Linked DNA regions of Homo sapiens: region 1 is linked to region 2. Evidence: promoter capture Hi-C in 16 types of primary human blood cells and fetal thymus (Javierre and others, 2016). All regions are on one chromosome and are shown on one strand. Each heading gives the region's core, a stretch centred on a gene start or on the middle of the fragment in contact. The rest is flanking DNA. Distances are from core to core; before and after follow the strand shown. Region 1 has its middle 27 kb from the start of ARL4A. Region 2 holds the start of GLCCI1 (glucocorticoid induced 1).

Region 1 (2,700 bases), core at 38-2,537, 4.7 Mb after region 2:
GGGTTCACGGTATCATGATTGGGAACCACGGTCCTAGCAGCATTAAGAGTGTGTGTGTATTGTAGGGGAGAAAAAATAGTTTTACTCTACTTATTTTAGGTTCAGTGCTCGAGACCCCTGTATCAAACGAAAGACTAACAAGCAAAAAGCATACACATTTATTTAATATCAGTTTTCCGTGACAAGGGAACCTTCAGAAGGAAATGAAAACTCAATAAACAGTTTTAAACTTGAGTGTTTTTCCATAGTAGGTTTGATGAAGAGTGGAAAGTCATGGAGAAATATGATAGGACAAAGGGGATATGAGCTACATGTAATGAGCTGGGAGAAACTTGTCAAGGCTTATTTGTTCAGATTACTCTCTGTGACTCTGTGTCCTTGGAGATAAGGATATTCCTTTCCTCCAGGAATAGGGAAGCACCTCTCACATAAGGATCTTATGCACTGCTTCAAGGGAAGGTCAGAACATGCTTCCTAGGTTTTATGATCTGCTTCAGGGGAGAAGGGAGGCGGAACTTCACAGAGACCTTCCTGCTTATGCTATTTTCTCAAATTCCTTCAGCTTAAAATATTCAATATGCCAAGGTGCCATATTTTGGGGTAGTGTGTCCTGATGTGTGTGTCTCTCTCTCCTGAACTCTCTTATCTATCCATCCAGCCATCCTTCCACATCCACACACACACACACATATAAATCAGTCTCCTGCATTTTTATTTGCTAAGTAAAATTACATTCTGTTGTAATTTTCTCCTTGCACTTACCATGACTTGATATTTTCTTGTTTACTTAGTTGTTTATGTGTTTAATGTTTGTCTTCCTTCACTGGGCTATGGGGTCCAAGAGAGTAGGAAAGTTTTCTGCCTTGTTCCCCACTGTATTCCTAGAACCTAAAACACTGCCTAGTGTATACTACATATTCAGTACACACTGTTTGGGTGAATACACATCTTCCAAAGACAAATGTTCATTCTCAAGGACAGTACATTGTAGATAGAAATATTCTCTAACTCCCATATACTTTGTAAGAAACTTCACCTTTCTTGGAGTTCTATTATCACATAATTATAGACAGTGCAGTTTATCTTTTACTGCTCCCAATTGTGCCCTTCAGAACATTTAGAAAAGGAGTCATGTAATCTAGTTATACAAAGAAAAGCTTTGAAATAAATCGCTGTCCAACAAAAACCACACACACAAACACACATACACAAAACCCACTCTATTACATTTAGTAATCTTGGTGAAGGGAAGGGAAGTCATATATTTTACCAATTATAGGTATTTTAACCTTTTGTTTTCAAAACTATAATAAAAATATTCAATAGTGTATTGAATTTTAATTTGCAGGAGACTATCAACATATTAGGTTGCTTTGGGGTTAACTTTATAAATTTTTTTTCGCAAAAATCTCACAATAAAGCTTCTGCTAACTGTCCATGCATATTTTGAACTTTTTTGGAAATGTATTATATGTAATTTAATGAATTAAATTTTAAAAATGTGTTCTTAAGTTACTGGACTTTTTAGTAGTTTCAGGAAAGGTAAATCAATATAGTGTTTCTGGTTTATCCTAGTGAATGATTTTTTTTTCTGAATATGTGTTTCCTTGGAATTTAAGTTCCACAGATCATTGATATGTATAGTCTTTTTCACAAGAAGTTTACACATTTTTTTGGTGATGGTGGCTAAGTGGTCTTTAGGCAAAATGATCTGATGAAATTAAAATTGAGCAATTAGGAGGGGAATCTATTCAATATGGACTGATTATGAAAAATTCAGACCCCTTTTTCTTAATTTTCAGGGATCAGAGGGTTTTAAATTATATAAGTTTCTAAACATGTATTCTGTTTATTGAGATGAAGCCTAAATTGGTGGTGGCAGTGGGGGCTGTGTGTGAATAGAAACAGAAAAAGCCTACCATTGACGCCTTTGATAGATTTTAACTGTCCAATTAATTTGCGTACATGAAATGTGTAACATACCAATATTTTGCTCCCGGCACACAGATCTCCAGTGGACATCGACAATCAAAGCTTCTATGATTATTTCACAATATTCAGCAATCCACCCAATGCTAACTGGGATGTTTGATTTTGCAGCCTCTTTCAGAGCAGTTGCTAAAAGTGGCTCCACATCATAAGAGGGCTTCCCTCCCTCAATCCATGAGAGCAACTAGGTTTTGCATCAGTGAAAGGAAGAAAAAGCAGGAGTTTGGCAAGAGGCTGCAAAGAGACGGCACTGGGCTCCACTAGAGTTCCTTCCCACCGCGTTTCTCATCCTGTCTTCTGCCTAGTGGATATGTCTGCGTGGGCGTGCACACACATTGGCTGATGAAACCCCCTTCCTGTTGCACAGGGTCAGAACTAAGCGAGGTGGGTGTAGCTTTGGAGGGTTCTGAAATCTAAGAACCAGCTTCCTTTCCCACCGCTTTCCGCTGAGTCAGTTCACTGCAGAGTGCTCTGCAGGATCTGGAGGCCTTTGTGTTCAGATTATTTTACTAGCTACAAAAGCCACACCCTTGTGCTACACAAACAGAACACTTTGTCCTTCCAGGAGGTCCGTAGTTTGACCACAGTTCTGGGATTTCAAAGCTGCCTCACAGAGGCTTGCCTATTGTAATGTAAAGTGTTGAGCTGAGTGACTGTCCCTGTGTTATAATGCAGCTTCACAACTGCTGGTTTAATGGCTTACCGTGCTAG
Region 2 (2,700 bases), core at 146-2,645:
TGAAATTTTTAGCTCCCCATATACTAACTATGTGATCTCAGGCAAGACAGCTTATTTATGCCACAACTGAGACCACAGTAAGGATAATAATAGTATCTACCTTGTGGATTATATGAGGACTGAATGAATTAACACACATAATGTTCTTAGAATAGCGGCTGGCACATGGTGAATAAATGTTAGCTCTTATTATAATATGTGGTAAACTGAGGAACTATCACTAGTTTTACTTGGATGAAGTACTGCATGAAATTTTTGTATTTTTATTGAGTTTCATCAATTTTTTTACTGAACCTAGTATGCTTTCTCGTCTGAACACACAAGGAAGAAAAGAAGGATGGCTCCTGTACGTGAAAGTGACCCCTGCATATAGTGCCTGAAATCAGAGGAAGCTTGTCAGTGTGGGCAGACACCACGAGCAGACCAATTTGACATTGTGCTTCTCTTTTAACCTCTTGAAAATTAATGAAAGTTATCTGATGAAGATCCTTACATTAATTGCTCCCGATTAAGGTTTAAAACCTTGGTTTACTGTGGGGTAAATTTATGTTTTTGATAGTCATCCAAAATCTTTGTACGCTTTCAGTTTCATTACAGAATAAAAAACAAATTTACCACAATGGATTATTACATTACATCTGGTATTTATTCCTCCCAAGAAGCTATCTGCTTCGGAAAAGCCAGGGGCGCCCTTCATTAATATATCTAACTGATGGTGTAATGACATAAAATTCCTTGTTGACCCCTGCTATTCAGTGTTATTGTCTTGGAACATAGAACTTGATAATCTCTTTTCACTGCATAACTACAAATGTTAGGCTGTAAGAGTATTTTACTTTGTTCAGTGCAGGTTCCAGACATTTCTCCTGATCACCAGAAGTTCTTTTGATTAATAAGGCTACTGGTCACGAAAACTCAGCTTACTAAAAGAGATCCAGTCTTCTGGTTCTAACTAAAACATCCCACCGGATGCAGGTGTACTTGCAAATTAAAGTTTGCCTCATGTGTCCTGTGTCTCAAGTCATACAGACGGCCCAGGAGGGTGGAGCCCCTGCAACCTGCCTAGCGGGGCGTTTGCGTGTCTGGGGGTGTCGGGACACGCGCAGGACACACACAGTCCCACTTTCCTAGTCTCGCACTTACCTCAAGGCTGTCAACTTTTACGCTCCTCCCTGCGCGCACAGCCCCCACCTCACGCTGCCACCCCTCACGCCCCGCCTTCAAAGTAGGAGGCACCATTGTCATTGGACACTGCTTCTCTCACTCCTATTCCAGAACCAATCACTCGAGTTCTAGTGGGGAGCGCCTAAGCCAATGGAAATGCTCGCTGCGGCAGCTGCCGGGTCCTGGGCGCTGGGAGGCGGTGCCGGGGGCGGGGTGCGGCTGGGGCGAATTAGTTGCCATTCGGAGTGAGGAGTGGGTAGAAGCGGCGGCGGCGGCGGCGGCGTTTGCGGTGGCGCGGACTCCGAGGAGCGCCAGCACCTCGAGGCCCTTTCTCTCTACCCTGGTCCCCAGAAGCAGGGGTCCCGGCCCTCCTTGCAGCTGCCGGGTTCTCCCGTGCGTGCAGCCCTGCGAGGGCTGAGGAGAAGGCTGCGAGCGGCCCTCGGGGCTGCGTGATCCGGGCCGTTGCCCTGTCAGCACGATGCCTGGAGCGGTGGCGGCGGCGGCTCCGGGCTCCTTGCGGCCCCGGCCGTGACCGCCACACCGAGCCCAGCCGGGCGGTTGCGGCCGTTGGACGTTTGTTTTCGCAGCCTTCCCCTCCCCCCTCGCCGAGGCGGCGGGGGTGTGCGTTGGGGAGGGGGAGCCCCGAGACTCCTCCCCCACAGCGATACCCCCGCCCCTCCCCCTTACACACTCGCACGCACTATCGCGCCGGCTCCCACACGCTCGCGCGCCTCCCGCCCCGCGCCTCCGTGTCGGCCGGCGGCGTCCAGGGCCCGCAGAGCCACCATGTCCACTGCCTCCTCCTCCTCCTCCTCCAGTTCCTCTCAGACCCCTCATCCCCCGTCGCAGAGGATGAGGCGCAGCGCCGCGGGGTCCCCGCCCGCCGTCGCCGCCGCCGGGAGCGGGAACGGTGCGGGCGGCGGCGGCGGCGTGGGCTGCGCCCCGGCTGCGGGAGCCGGCCGGCTGCTGCAGCCCATCCGCGCCACGGTGCCCTACCAGCTCTTGCGGGGCAGCCAGCACAGTCCCACGCGTCCGCCCGTCGCCGCTGCCGCCGCCTCGCTGGGCAGCCTCCCGGGGCCCGGCGCGGCCCGCGGCCCCAGCCCGTCCAGCCCGACGCCGCCGGCGGCCGCAGCCCCGGCCGAGCAGGCGCCGCGGGCCAAGGGCCGCCCGAGACGGTCCCCAGAGAGCCACCGGAGGAGCAGCTCACCTGAGAGACGGAGCCCCGGCTCGCCCGTGTGCAGAGGTAGCGAGCCCAACCCTCCCGTCCTCCCGGGCTGCGTCTCCCCGACGGTGCCCTCCGTGGAAACTTCAGCCTCTTCGGGCTTCTCTTTGCTAGTGCATTATCGAAGGTGTGAAAGTGGCTTTGGGAATCTCACCCCCCTGCGGTCGCTGTGGGGCTTGGAGGAGCGAACTGAAAAGCGACTTTTATTTGACCCTCATGCCGCCCCTCAGAGTCTCTCTTCCATCACTCGCCTGCTTCGAGAGGTTTTTCAGTTTAAGAGCTGGCTAGCTCATTCGTGTGTTTGCCGTTTGTAG

Evidence for each region. The method cuts DNA at HindIII sites, captures the fragments that hold promoters and counts their contacts. A CHiCAGO score of 5 or more calls a contact.
Region 1: a contact is called between a fragment that was not itself captured here and the fragment with the promoter of GLCCI1 in region 2, in 1 of 17 cell types (erythroblasts). The highest score is 5.2, in erythroblasts.

What each region holds. Positions count from the first base shown.
Region 1 is chr7:12,713,402-12,716,101 of GRCh38, forward strand. No RefSeq gene overlaps it. Among named protein-coding and RNA genes, the nearest start is that of ARL4A, 27 kb to the left of the region's middle. RefSeq lists an enhancer at 2,193-2,700. The HindIII fragment of the contact is 264 bases long and covers 1,156-1,419 here.
Region 2 is chr7:7,967,401-7,970,100 of GRCh38, forward strand. It overlaps GLCCI1 (glucocorticoid induced 1), which reads left to right and starts at 1,396. Exons shown (of 8, transcript NM_138426.4): 1 at 1,396-2,407. The coding sequence starts at 1,951. It overlaps GLCCI1-DT (GLCCI1 divergent transcript), which reads right to left and starts at 1,352. Exons shown (of 5, transcript NR_110018.1): 1 at 1,144-1,352. RefSeq lists silencers at 1,219-1,368, 1,579-1,978, 2,059-2,118, 2,209-2,288. The HindIII fragment of the contact is 4,760 bases long and covers 391-2,700 here.